Regions from separate parts of the Homo sapiens genome. Here region 2 is linked to region 1. Evidence: promoter capture Hi-C in human tissues and cell types (Jung and others, 2019). All regions are on one chromosome and are shown on one strand. Each heading gives the region's core, a stretch centred on a gene start or on the middle of the fragment in contact. The rest is flanking DNA. Distances are from core to core; before and after follow the strand shown. Region 1 holds the start of TAF1 (TATA-box binding protein associated factor 1). Region 2 has its middle 30 kb from the start of SNX12.

Region 1 (6,970 bases), core at 2,642-5,141:
GTTAGGTGTGGTGGCTCATGCCTGTAATCCCAACACTTTGGGAGGCCAAGGCGGGAGGACTGCTTGAGCTCAGGAGCCCACCCTGGGCTACATAATGAGACCCTGTCTCTACCAAAAAAAAAAAAGAATATTATGTTATCTTTTATATTTATAGGACCTGAAGTCTCCTTCCACATCCTACAAGCCTCTACCTCTCATTGAATCTGCTTTTTCTCAAGCACAAGCATCCAAGAGACAATATGTTGTACTAAATAACTTTTTTTGAGGCAGAGTCTCGCTCTGTTGCCCAGGCTGGAGTGTGGTGGTGCGATCTCAGTTCACTGCCAACCTCCATCTCTTGGGTTCAAGCGATTCTCTTGCCTCAGCCTCCCGAGTCGCTGGGATTACAGGCGCCCACCACCGCATCCGGCTAATTTTTGTATTTTCAGTAGAGACGAGGTTTCACCATGTTGGCTAGGCTGGTCTCAAACTCCTGACTTCAGGTGATCTGCCCGCCTGGACCTCCCAAAGTGCTGGGATTACAGGAGTGAGCCACCGTGCCCAGCCTATTTTTATTTTTTAAAAACTTTTTATTTTACTGTTTGGACCGAACAATGTGAATATATGAAACCATGTTTTGAATCAAGAATGGTATCTTTCGGCTGGGAGCAGGCTGGGAGATAAAAAAAAAAGAATTGTATCTTTAGGTTAGGTGTGGTGGCTCATACCTGTAATCCCAACACTTTGGGAGGCCAAGGCGGGAGGATTGCTTGGGCTCAGGAGTTCAAGACCACCCTGGGCTACAATAGTGAGACCCTGTCTCTACAAAAAAAAAAAAGTTATCTTTTATATTTATAGGACCTGAAGTCTCCTTCCACATCCTACAAGCCTCTACCTTTATTCAGTCTGCTTTTCCTCAAGCACAAGCATCCAAGAGACAATATCGTACTAAATAACTTTTTTTTTTTTTTTTTTGAGACAGAGTCTCGCTCTGTTGCCCAGGCTGGAGTACAGTAGCGCGATCTCGGCTCACTGCAACCTCCACCTCCCGGGTTCAAGCGATTCTCCAGCCTCAGCCTCCCAAGTAGCTGGGGCTACAGATGTGCGCCACCGTGTTGGCTAATTTTTTTGTATTTTTAGTAAAGATACGGTTTCACCATGTTGGCCAGCTTGGTCTCAAACTCCTGACCTCAGGTGATCTGTCCGCCTCGGCCTCCCAAAGTGCTGGGATTACAGCCGTGAGCCACTGTGCGCGCTGCTACGTAACTATCATAAACTACATTAAAAAGCATTCCAAGCTGGGCGCGGTGGCTCACGCCTGTAATCCCAGCACTTTGGGAGGCCAAGGCGGGTGGATCACCTGAGGTCAGGAGTTTGAGACCAGCCTGGTTAACACGGTGAAACCCCGTGTCTACTAAAAATACAAAAATTCGGGTGTGGTGGTATGCTCCTATAGTCCCAGCTACTCAAGAGGCTGAGACTGGAGAATCGCTTGAACCCGGGAGAAGGAGGTCGGCAGTGCACTCCACCCTGGGCAACAGAGTGAGACTTTCTCAAAAAAAAAATAAGAAAAAGAAAGAAAGATCATCCTTTCGCATTCTCCCAATATAACTGATTTAGGCAAGGGACATCAATGAATGCTAAAACCACATTGGGTGCAAGGTCAATGGGGAAAAGAATATTCACAATTTATTCTGCAGAAGGATGGGCTCAGTACCAAAAGACTGAAAAAAAAAAAAGAATATTCACACAATCTCTAAGTACCTGTGGATTACTTAGTAATTACACAGGGTTGTACCTTTGTGATGGAGCAATCTGGTGGTGACTACTTTATCAAGGTGATGAAATTTAGCATCACCAATACTAGGACAACACTGTATTTGACAGTGTACCTTCTGATGGCTGATAAAATATTTAACCTGGGCCGGGCGCGGAGGCTCACTCCTGTAATTTCCAGCACTTGAGGCGGGCGGATCACGAGGTCAGGAGTTTGAGATCAGTGTGGCCAATATGGTGAAACCCCGGCTCTACTAATCATACAAAAATTAGCCAGGGGTGGTGGCGCCGAGATCGCACCACAGCACTTTATCCTGGGAGACAGAGCAAGAGACTCCGTCTCAAAAAAAGAAAAAAAAAAAAAGGCCGGGCGTGTGGTGGCTCACGCCTGTAATCCCAGCATTTTGGGAGGCCGAGGTGGGCGGATCACGAGGTCAGGAAATCAAGACCATCCTGGCTAACACAGTGAAACCCCGTCTCCACCAAAAATACAAAAATTAGCCGGGCTTGGTGGCGGGCGCCTGTAGTCCCAGATACTTGGGAGGCTGAAGCAGGAGAATGGTGTGAACCCAGGAGGTGGAGCTTGCAATGAGCCGAGATAGCACCACTGCACTCCACCCTGGGCAACAGAGCGAGACTACGTCTCAAAAAAAAAAAGGAAACAAGAGAAATTCGGATCATGGAATGTTTTCAAGACAACTTGCCTGGATTCTTCCAAATATTTAGTGTCATGAAAAACAAACAAGAAGGCAGGTGATTCTGGACTAAAGGAAGATGACCAAATACAATGCATGAAACGTGAATGGATCCTAGTATTGGAAAAAAGGGAGAATGAGGAAGAGTGCTATGATGTGGTAAAGAAATTATTTCAGTCTATATTATCATAATATGTGAAAAAAGCAAGGTGAAAGCCGGGGTGTTGGCTCATGGCTGCAATCCCAGCACTTTGGGAGGCTGAAACGGGCAGATTGCTTGAGCCCAGGAGTCTGAGACCAGCCTGTGCAACATGACGAAACCCCGTAAAATGTTCCAACTAGGACAACTGGGGAAATTTAAGTGCGGACTCTTCCTTAAATAATATTGACTTACTTCCTAAAGTTGTGATAAAGGTACTTTGGTTCCATAGTTAAGATGCTTATTTTTAGGAGTGAAGAACAAGATGCCCATAAATGGTTTAGAAAAACAAAAATCCTAGCAAAATGTTAACCATTGTGAGTCTAGGTGAGGGGTCAGCTGTTCATTTTACTAAACTTTCACATTTTCCGAAATAAAACGTTGGGGGAACAAGTATTTTTTTTGAGGCGGGCTGGAGTGCAGTGGCCCGATCACAGGTCACTGCAGACTCCAACTCCTGGCTCCCACCTCAGACCCCCCAACAGCTGGGACTACAGGCACTGGCCACCACATCTGGCTAATTTTTTTGATTTTGTGTATGGATGGAGTCTCGCTTTCTTGTCCAGGCTGGCCTCATACTCGTGGGCTCAAGCGATCCTCCCACCTCGGCCTCTCAAAGTGCTGGAATTACAGGCGTAAGCCACCGCGTCCGGTCAAAAAATCAATTTCTAGGGAAAAATGTCAACTCAAAACAAGTAACCTGCATAGCTCGGGAATGCCTGTATAATTTACGTCAAGTCTCTCCTTGGGACGGACCGGTGAAATTGCACGCAGCACAAAGACCGGCTCTTACCCTTACTTCCGGGTATTGTGGTACAGGAACCCGAGGTTGCCTGCGCGTAAGCCACGTGACTCGAGCAGCTCCTTCTGATTGGAGGAAGAGCCACTGCTCTAATTCGGTGCCGTGAGAAAGCTCGCGCGCGGAGCAGTGGGAGCGGGCGGGACTGAATATTTTCTTTGACCAACCGCTTTCCACATATCCATCCTCCTGATCCCGTAGCGTCGAATCAAAAGCCGTTAGTAAAGTAGTTACTTCTTTCTCTTAGGATAGCCGGTCTTTCCGGGTTTTCCCCCCCTTCCCCCTCCCCTCTCCCCACTTCCCCCTCCCTTTCCCCTCTGTTTTGAGCTTCCGGTAGAGGCTGGTAGGGTAAGGGAGCTCAGTAAGTCACTTCTGGGCGACTGTTGTTTTATTTCCGGTCTATGGGACCCGGCTGCGATTTGCTGCTGCGGACAGCAGCTACCATCACTGCTGCCGCCATCATGTCAGACACGGACAGCGACGAAGATTCCGCTGGAGGCGGCCCATTTTCTTTAGCGGGTTTCCTTTTCGGCAACATCAATGGAGCCGGGCAGCTGGAGGGGGAAAGCGTCTTGGATGATGTGAGGGGGTGGGCGTGGGGGTAGGGCTCGGGGGGTGGGGCTAAGCAGAGGAAGGAGGTGCGGGGAGGAAAGGAGAGGGTGCTCAGGCAGCGAGAACAGGGCGCAGCTAACGCCGGGGAGGAGGATCCCGTCCTCATGGGTGCGGGAGCAACGTGGCGTGGGAGTGATCGTTCTGGGGGAGAGTGGGCAGAAGAGAGCGCGAGGCGAGCCCGGGGCCAGGGGCGCAGGGAATAGTGGCTTTGGAGCTAGCGCTCTGCCGACCAGACAGTAGGACACATGCTGGTTTCGCCTACTGAGATGGCTTCCCACCCGTAACCTGCTTGGAGATTCTTGACACTGCCTGCCCCTCTGACATCGCTGCCCTGAGATGGCTCTATAGAGCCAGAGGACTGGACAGGACCTGCCTCCCGCTCGTTTGGTTCCGGCCTCAGGCTTAGGACAATGGGGTGTTCCTAGCACCCGAGCGGGCCTCCTGGTCACAGTGCGCCTTTTAGGTGGCTCTCCCAGCGTCTTCACTGACTTTCGTGAAATAGTGTCCTGCGCCCTAGTGAAACTACCCTGCCTTCACTTAGGCCCGTTTTCTTGAGGAGTGAAGCTGTCGGCCGCTGTGGCCCCTCCTGTGCCGCAGGCGCATGCGAAACAGGGACCGAACGAGCCCCGCCTCGACGCCTCCAATCCCACTGATCCCCCTGCCTCGGCCCTCGTTCCGAGAACGACCGTTCCATTCATTCAGTCTTGGCAGTAGTTATTTGATTCGTCTTCTCTTGTAGTATACTTTAAAGTGTGGGCGATGCAGTTGGCTGTGGTGCTTTAATAAAGATCTGATCGATGCGGAGTTTGGTAGATGTATATTACAGTTCTCGAACGTGTTGCTTGTTTTGGCACACTGCACAGTCATTTTTCATGTGGATTTGTGACTTTGTCGTGGACCAGGGAAATAAGTCCTGTGGTGTGGGAGTCGTAGGTTTAGTTGTTATCTTCGACTCGTGCTGTCCCTTTTTCAGGAATGTAAGAAGCACTTGGCAGGCTTGGGGGCTTTGGGGCTGGGCAGCCTGATCACTGAACTCACGGCAAATGAAGAATTGACCGGGACTGACGGTGCCTTGGTAAATGATGAAGGTGAAGTCTGGGTTGTGGGGAGTAGGCGGGGGAGGAGGCTAGCCACCTACTATGTATGTACTTTTTTGTGTGTGTAAGACGGAGTTTCGCTCTGTCTCCGAGGTTGGAGTGCAGTGGGGCGATCTGGGCTGACTGCAGCCTCCGCCACCCGGGTTCAAGCATTTCTCCTGTCTCAGCCTCCTGAGTAGCTGGGACTACAGGCACGCACCACCACGCCCGGCTAATTTTTGTATTTTTAGTAGAGACAGGGTTTCATCATATTGGTCAGACTGGTCTTGAACTCCTGGCCTGAGGTGATCCGTCTGGCTTGGCCTTCCAAAGTGCTGGGATTACAGGCGTGAGCCACCGCATCCAGCCTGTACATGTACTTTTAAATGGGAATTATCTGAGGGAGTGAGGGTCGCTTACTGTTGTTGCGATTCTCCCTGCTTTTTTCATAGGGTGGGTTAGGAGTACAGAAGATGCTGTGGACTATTCAGACATCAATGAGGTGGCAGAAGATGAAAGCCGAAGATACCAGCAGACGATGGGGAGCTTGCAGCCCCTTTGCCACTCAGGTGATTCTTTGGTGTATTGGCTTGAACATTCCAGTGCATTATCCTGCTGTATAGTCCAGTTTGGGCTCTGGTTTCTATACCCGCTGTCTGCCATTGTTTCTGCTCTCTATGCCTTTGCTTTGGCTCCTCCACTCCCTTTGTCAGGTCAGTTCCAAGTAGCTGCTATCTTTTTTTGTGTTCTGGCCAGTCTTAACCGTATTCATGTGGTTATTCCTCACACTGTTCAGTCATGAATTCTTAGTTAATGACAAGTAGCTTTCTTGTCACCTGGTATTTGAATACCTACAGGGTTTGTGAGATACACTTCAAAGTTGGAAACTATGAAACAAATTCAGTTTTTGCCCTTAAGGAATGGATAGTTCAAGAAGGATACAACGTCATACATAAGCAATGAACTAAGGCAGGACGTGGTGGCTCACCAGATTACCTGAGGTCGGGAGCTTGAGACAGCCTGACCAATATGGAGAAATCCCGTTTACTAAAAATAAAAAATTAGCCAGGCGTGGTGGCGCATGACTGTAATCCCAGGTACTCGGGAGGCTGAGGCAGGAGAATTGCTTCAAACCGGCAGGTGGAGGTTGCAGTGAGCCGAGATCGTGCCACTGCACTCCAGCCTGGGCAGCAAGAGTGAGACACTCCGTCTCAAAAAAAAAAAAAAAAACCCAATATAAAACAACTGTTTTTTTTTTTTTTTCCGAGACGGAGTGTCTCACTTTCTTGCCCAGGTTGGAGTGCGGTGACACGATCTCGGCTCACTGCAATCTCCACCTCCCGGTTTGAAGCAATTCTCCTGCCTGAGCCTCCCAAGTAGCTGGGACTACAGGGGCCCGCCACCAAGCCCGGCTATTTTTTTGTATTTTTAGTAGAGACAGGGTTTCACCGTGTTAGCCAGGATGGTCTCGATCTCCTGACCTCGTGATCCGCCTGCCTCGGCTTCCCAAAGTGCTGGGATTACAGGCGTGAGCCACCACGCCCGGCCACATCTGGCCAATTTTTTTGTATTTTTAGTAGAGAAGGGGTTTCACCATGTTGGCCAGATTGGTTTCGAACTCCTTACCTCAAGTGACCCTGCTCCCCTCGGTCTCCATAAGTGTTAGGATTACAGGTGTGAGCCACCGCACCCTGCCTAAAACAATGAACTTGATACCTGCTTGCAAATATGTTTTTTTCCTCTCTGGTATAGGGTGCTACATTGTAGAATCAAAACATCAGACTTAGAAGGTAGAGTCAGTGAGTGGAAGGAGTCTTAGGAATTATTTATTCGT
Region 2 (6,970 bases), core at 3,017-5,516, 330 kb before region 1:
AAAGAAAAAAAAATGATAAATTAGAATTCACTGAATTTTAAAATCTTCTCATGAAAAACTACTATTAAGAAAATGAATAGGCAAGCACAGACTAAGAGAAAATACTTGAAAAACATATATCTGACAAAGGACTTGTAAGCAGAATATATAAAGAACTCTTACAAATCAATCATTTAAAAATGGATTTAATCCAACTTTAAAATGGACAAAAGATTTGAATAGATATTTAGCAAAGATATTTGAATGGTCAATAAGCACATGAAAAAGTGCTTGACATCATTAATACTCAGGGAAATGCATATTAAAACTACAATGAGCCAGGCACAGTGGCTCACACCTGTAATCTGAGCATTTTGGGAGGCCGAGGCAGGTGGATCACTTGAGCCCAAGAGTTCCAGACCAGCCTGGGCAACATGGTGAAGCCCTGCCTCTACAAAAAACAAAGCAAAAATTAGCTGGGTGTGGTGGCATGGCCTGTAGTCCCAGCTATTTGTACTACTGCACTCCAGCCTGGGATCCTATCTTTGGAAAAAAAAAAAAAAAAAACTACAATGAGATACTACTACACACCCACCAGAATGGCTAAAATGTTAAAAGACTGACCATACCAAGTGTTCGAGAGAATGAAAAACTACTAGAATTCTCATATATTGCTAGTGGGAATAAAAAATGGTACAACCTGTTTAGAGAATTACTTAGAAGTTTCTTATAAATTTAAATACACATCTATCCTATAGTCTAGCAATTCCACTTCTAGGTATTTACAAAAAAAAAAAAAAAAAGGAAGCATATGTTTATAAAAAGACTTGTACCAGAATGTTTACTTCAGCTTTATTCATAGTAGCCAAAAACTGTAAATAATCCAAATGTCCATCAATAATAGAATGGATACGCTGGTTACGGCGGCTCATGCCTGTAATCCCAGCACTTTGGGAGGCCAAGGCAGGACCTAAGGTCAGGAGTTTGAGACCAGCCTGGCCAACATGGTGAAACCCCATCTCTACTAAAAAGTACAAAATTAGCTGGGTGTGGTAGCACATACCTGTAGTCCCAGCTACTCAGGAGGCTGAGACAGGAGAATCGTTTGAATCTGGGAGGTGGAGGCTACAGTGAGCCGAGATCATGCCACTGCACTCCAGCCTGGGCAAGACACAGCAAGACTCTGTCTCAAAAAAAAAAAAAAAAAAAAAAAAAAAAGAACAGAATGGATAAACTAGCATAGTCATACAATAGAATGCTACTCAGCACTGAAAAGGAACAAACTTGATACACACAATAACATGGATAAATCTCAAAAACATTATGCTGAGCAAGGCCAGGTACAGTGGCTCATGCCTGTAATCCCAGCACTTTGGGAGGCCAAGGCAGGTGGATCATTTGAAGCCAGGAGTTCAAGACCAGCCTGACCAACATGGCAAAATCCCATCTCTACTAAAAATACAAAAATTAGCTGAGCATGGTGGCACATCCCTTTAATCCCAACTACTTGGGAGGCTGAGGCACAAGAATTGCTTGAACCTGGGAAGCAGAGGTTGCAGTGAGCTGAGATCGTGCCACTGCATTCCAGCCTGGGTGATGTAATGAGAGTCTGTCTCGAAAATAAATAAAATAAAATAATATTACATTCTCACAATGAAATGCTATACAGCCTTTTTTTATTTTTTAAGAAATGGGATCTCACTACGTTGTCCAGGCTATTCACAGACATGACCATAGGGCACTACAGCCTTGAACTCCTGGACTCAAGCGATCTTTCCACCTCAGCCTCCCAAAGAGCTGAGACTACAGGCACCATACCACTGTGCCCACCTTACAAAGCCACTTAAAACAATAGTGTAATCTATATTCATTGACATAGAAAAATGTCCAAAACGTACTGTTGAGTGAAAAAAAGGATTAAAAACAGCATGAAATAAAGAAAAATAAGTTAAACAAGATATTTTTCACCTATCATGTTGATAAGGATGAAAAAATGATTGATAAATGATAAAGATTGAAAAACGACCTAATTCTGGCAAGTATATGGGGAAAACACATTTTTATATACTGTTAGTGGAGTGTAAATTGGTAGATTCTATAGGGCTATATGACTATACTACTAAAATTGTAAATATGTTTATCATTTCACACAGCAATCCATTTCTAAAAATTTATCCCACAGTAATACTCACAGAGACACACAAAGATTTATGTACAAAGAGTATTGTTTTACATATAATCTATGCACAAAAAAGAATGCAGTAGTATTTGCAACAGTCAAACATTAGAACAATGCCTGTACAGTGAATCTGGCAAAATGAAATAATGGTCCATGTATACAATGGAACACCATGCACCTGTTAAAATCAATGAGTTGGCCGGCGAGGTGGCTCACACCTGTAATCCCAGCACTTTGGGAGGCTGAAGCGGGCAGATCACCTGAGGTCGGGAGTTCGAGACCAGGCTGGTCAACATGGTGAAACCCCATCTCTACTAAAAATACAAAAAATTAGCTGGGTGTGGCGGCAGGCACCTGTAATCCCAGCTACTTGGGAGACTGAGGAGGAAGAATCGCTTGAAACTGGGAGGCGGAGGTTGCAGTGAGCTGAGATCATGCTACTGCACTCCAGCCTGGGCTACAGAGCAAGACTCCATCTCAAAATAAGTAAAATAAAATAAAATAAAATAAAATGAGTTGGTGCTATGTGTAGTGAAACAATAAAAATGTCAAAAATAAAGTTTGGGCCGGGCACAGCGGCTCAGGCCTGTAATCCCAGCACTTTGGGAGGCTGATAGGGGGGGATCACCTGAGGTCAGGGGCTCGAGACCAGCCTGGCCAACATGGTGAAACCCCGTCTCTACTAAAAATACAAAAATTAGCCGGGCATGGTGGCACACACCTGTAGTCCCAGCTACACGGGAGGCTAAGGCAGAAGAATCGCTTAAACCCAGGAGGCGGAGGTTGCAGTGAGCCAAGATTGTGCCACTACCCTCCAGCCTGGATGACAGAGCGAGACTCTGTCAAAAAAAAAAAAAAAGTTGTGGACAGAGAATGAGATATTGGAATTGTATATTTTCAGATATAGAGTAATTCTGGGAAATGACAAAATCCAGAATGAGGCTAATAAATTTTCTTGCAGAAGTAGAGTGGAGAAGAGCACTAGAAATGGTCAAGGAGCTGTGAAGGTAGAGTGTTGCTTGGCCAGTTCATCCACAGGAGCATTGTGATGGGCTGGGAGGTAGAGAGCAGATGCTCAAGTCTCCATAGAATATCAGGAAATATTCAAGAAGGCAATAAATGACTACATCGAGAAGGAATAAAAGGTAATATTGCAAAAGGCATGAGCCTTAAAAGAGAGGCCTTTAATGTGAGGGTTGAAAGCAAAGGTCTAGAAGCAGTGATGAAGAGTAGGAATGATGATGACTTCTGGGAAACAAAAATTACAATGATTAATAACTCTCCAGTATCAGTGAGGTATAAGAAAACAGGCATTCATGTATGCTTGGTAAGAAGGTACATTAGAAAAAACTTTCTGGATAAAAATTTGGCAGTATTTATCAATTTTTTTAATGTTTGTGTCATTTGATTCAGCAGTTTCAAATCCACAAATCTATCCTACAAATATATTCACATGTACCCAAACATACATGTATTAGCATTTCACTGTGGCATTGTTTGTAAAACTGGAAACAACCTAAATATTCATCAGTAGGGATATTTGTTCAATCAGTTATGTGAGGCTTTCACTCAAGAACCATAGCAATACAGAGGGCACACCCTGGGAGAGAAGCCGGGTTTCAGTTAAAGCAAGCAAGTGGAGAGAGAATTCAGTGAGGAAATTTAGGGTACAGTAGAGTCTGTCTACAATGGTACCAGTTTTCCAGAAAACATAGTACAAATAATTGGCAAGAGAGGCAATAGTGGGTGGATGATGGAGGGTAAGGAAAAGTGTAGAAGAACAGAAGGAAGCCCAAAGGGGTTCAAGACAGAGTGAACAAAAAGGCAGATGATCAAAAAGGCTTGCAGTATTAATTGGTTTTCAGTTAACTGGACTCTTCAGTCTAAAATGCCCTTCCCGGCCCTTGAAAATCCAGGAAACTCCTACTCATTCTTTAAATCTCAGACCAAAAACTATCTTTTCTATGAAGCCTTCCCTGATGGCCTATGGTCGAATTATGAACAAGTGCAATCCTATTATAGGATTTATTACTTCTGATTAGGAGTATTTAATGTGAAGCTTATGGATAGGCATCAGGGAGCATGTCCAGGTTTAAAATTTATGCAAAATTCTGTGTACATTTGTGCATTTTTCTAGCGGGGAAAGTCCAAAGACTTTTTTTTTTCTTTGCAATTTCACGCTGGTAATTTTTCTTTTTTAAAAGGTAAGCCACTAATAATTTAAGAAAAATATTTAAACCAAAAGTTGCATATTAATATTATACACAAATTGAAACACAAGTGACTTTTAGCACAGTGTATACATGCTTACATAAACTCAAATAGTTACACATTTAAAATAATTTCCATTTAACATATGAAAGTTCTGAAATACATAAAAGCATTAATACTTTCTATAAATCTACAGTTAGAACATCAATTTGCTACAAGCATATAAAAATATCAAGTGCTTTCTTGGAGTTTCCAGTTTCGTCCCTAAAACACAATCTTGGTCATAACAATCTAATTGCATATAAAACTTTAAAAGCAGGCTTGGGCCAAGTGCGGTGGCTCACGCCTGTAATCCCAGCACTTTGGGAGGCAGAGGCGAGCAGATCACCTAAGGTCAGGAGTTCGAGACCAACCTGGCCGACATGGTAAAACCCCGTCTCTACTAAAAATACAAAAATTAGCCAGGCATGGTGGCGCCCACCTGTAATCTCAGCTACTCCAAAGGCCGAGGCAGGAGAATCGCTTAAAACCAGGAGGCAGAGGTTGCAGTGAGCCGAGATCACACCACTGCACTACCAGCCAGGGTGATAGATCGAGACTCCGTCTCAAAAAAAAAAAAAAAGGTTTGAATGAAGTTCTCAAACACTTTGATATATGTTCTTCAGGGACTTCAATTATAAGCAACAGAAATTATAAGTGACTTCAATCCCCATCTTGCTTTAAAATGGACAAGTCTTTGGTTAAAGTTCTATATTTGTGGCATTTATTTTCAATTAAGATGGTCCCCAAACCAATAAGTGGTACTGATATATTAATAGTTCACAAGACTTGATTTAATCTGCTTCTGATGTGTGGAAGGTTACAGATACTCATTTACTGTAATATGTCATTGATAGTTTTGATCTTTCACCCATAAGCAGAGAAATCAATAGATTTATTATTTCTGCCAGTTTTTTGTTATAATCTAAACTGTACAATGATTTTCAGTAACTACAGATACTGCTCCACAGTATATGTGATTATGATTGATAAGATGCAGAGCATTAAACTTAGAGTTAGCTTATTCTGATAAGTCAATATGAGACTGTACAGTAATTCTACATTAGCTATAGTAGGTTGTTAGATAATGCTTATTTTAAAAAACCCCAAACCATTCCATTTACAAAAGAAATTGTTGCAAATGTATAAAACAGTAGATATACAAGGAGAACACCAAACATACTTTATTAGCACAAAAAAGCAGCCATAACAAGGCACAGCAAGCAGAAACACGCATTAGCAGTCAAAGAGTTAGTGTGGCATACAAATAAAGCTTTTTTTTTTTGTAGCCTTGGCAATTGCCATAGGGATGTAAAATAATGTTCTGTAGCAGCAGGTAAGGAAACTATGGAGCACTCACCAGTGGTACAGAACACATTAACAAAAAGACACAAGAATGGATTCAGCCACTTTAGTGCAAAATGTCTAGGACAGAACTGTACATTCAGTTCAGTTACTAAGAAGCAAACACTAGAACTTGATGTAACTTCCAAAAGAGCTCACTCAAGTAGTATTACATTCACAGTAGTATTCAAGTAGTATTACACTCAAGTAGTATTCTAAGTGACAAAGAGGTGTTAAGTAGTTATTTACAGATATAATGGTTGTACAGTACCTTTCAAATCTGCAATTTATGTTTCAGATTTTCCATTGAGAGTAAATTACACTGAAATTCTGTAAATTATACTTAAGCAATTTAGCTATGAGTGTTTACAAAAAAGAGATAAATACTGCCATCCAAATTAGTAATTACAGTTTAACAATAATCTAACATCAGCAACCATTGTAGTTACTATTATCTGATTTGTTTGGGCATCTTCTAGTCGCATTTTCTTCATGATTCACAAAATCATTATGGGCACAGGAGAAGATCCAACTTTTATGAAACAACAATTAGACTGCACATCAACTTTTTTTTTTTTTTGACACCAAGTTTCGCTCTTGTTGCCCTGGCTGGAGTGCAATGGTGCAATCTCGGCTCACTGCAACCTCCGCCTCCCAGGTTCAAGTGATTCTCCTGTCTCAGCCACCCGAGTAGCTGGGATTACAGGCGCCCACCACCACGCACGGCTAATTTTTTGTATTTTTAGTAAAGACGAGGTTTCACCATGTTGGCCAGGCTGGTCTCAAACTCCTGACCTCAGGTGATCTGCCCGCTTTGGCCTCCCAAAGTTCTGGGATTACAGGCATGAGCCACCGCACCCGGTCACATCAACTTTTTAAAAAATCATATGCAAGACTATATTGCAGCAGCTGTTTTAAGTTAAAGTGCTCACTTAAAAACTAATACCTGGCTGGGTGCAGTGGCTCACGCCTGTAATCCCAGCACTTTAGGAGGCTGAGGCAGGCGGATCACGAGGTCAGGAGGTCAAGACTATCCTGGCTAACACGGTGAAACCACGTCTCTACTAAAAATACAAAAAATTAGCCAGGCATGGTGGCGAGCGCCTGTAGTCCCAGGTACTCGGGAGGCTGAGGCAGGAGAATCGCTTGAACCTGGGAGGCAGAGGTTGCAGTGAGCTGAGATCGTGCCACCGCACTCCAGTCTGGGCAACAGAGCAA

The links. The method cuts DNA at HindIII sites, captures the fragments that hold promoters and counts their contacts. A contact is called where the count stands out against the background at its distance.
Region 2: a fragment that was not itself captured here is called in contact with the fragment with the promoter of TAF1 in region 1 in 1 of the 25 tissues and cell types used here (hippocampus).

What each region holds. Positions count from the first base shown.
Region 1 is chrX:71,362,466-71,369,435 of GRCh38, forward strand. TAF1 (TATA-box binding protein associated factor 1) reads left to right here and starts at 3,892. Exons shown (of 38, transcript NM_004606.5): 1 at 3,892-4,029; 2 at 5,034-5,148; 3 at 5,589-5,705. The coding sequence starts at 3,910. RefSeq lists enhancers at 2,656-3,225, 3,394-3,443, 3,934-3,983, 4,502-5,197 and a silencer at 3,584-3,773. The HindIII fragment of the contact is 16,773 bases long and covers 1-6,970 here.
Region 2 is chrX:71,035,206-71,042,175 of GRCh38, forward strand. No RefSeq gene overlaps it. Among named protein-coding and RNA genes, the nearest start is that of SNX12, 30 kb to the right of the region's middle. The HindIII fragment of the contact is 4,398 bases long and covers 2,068-6,465 here.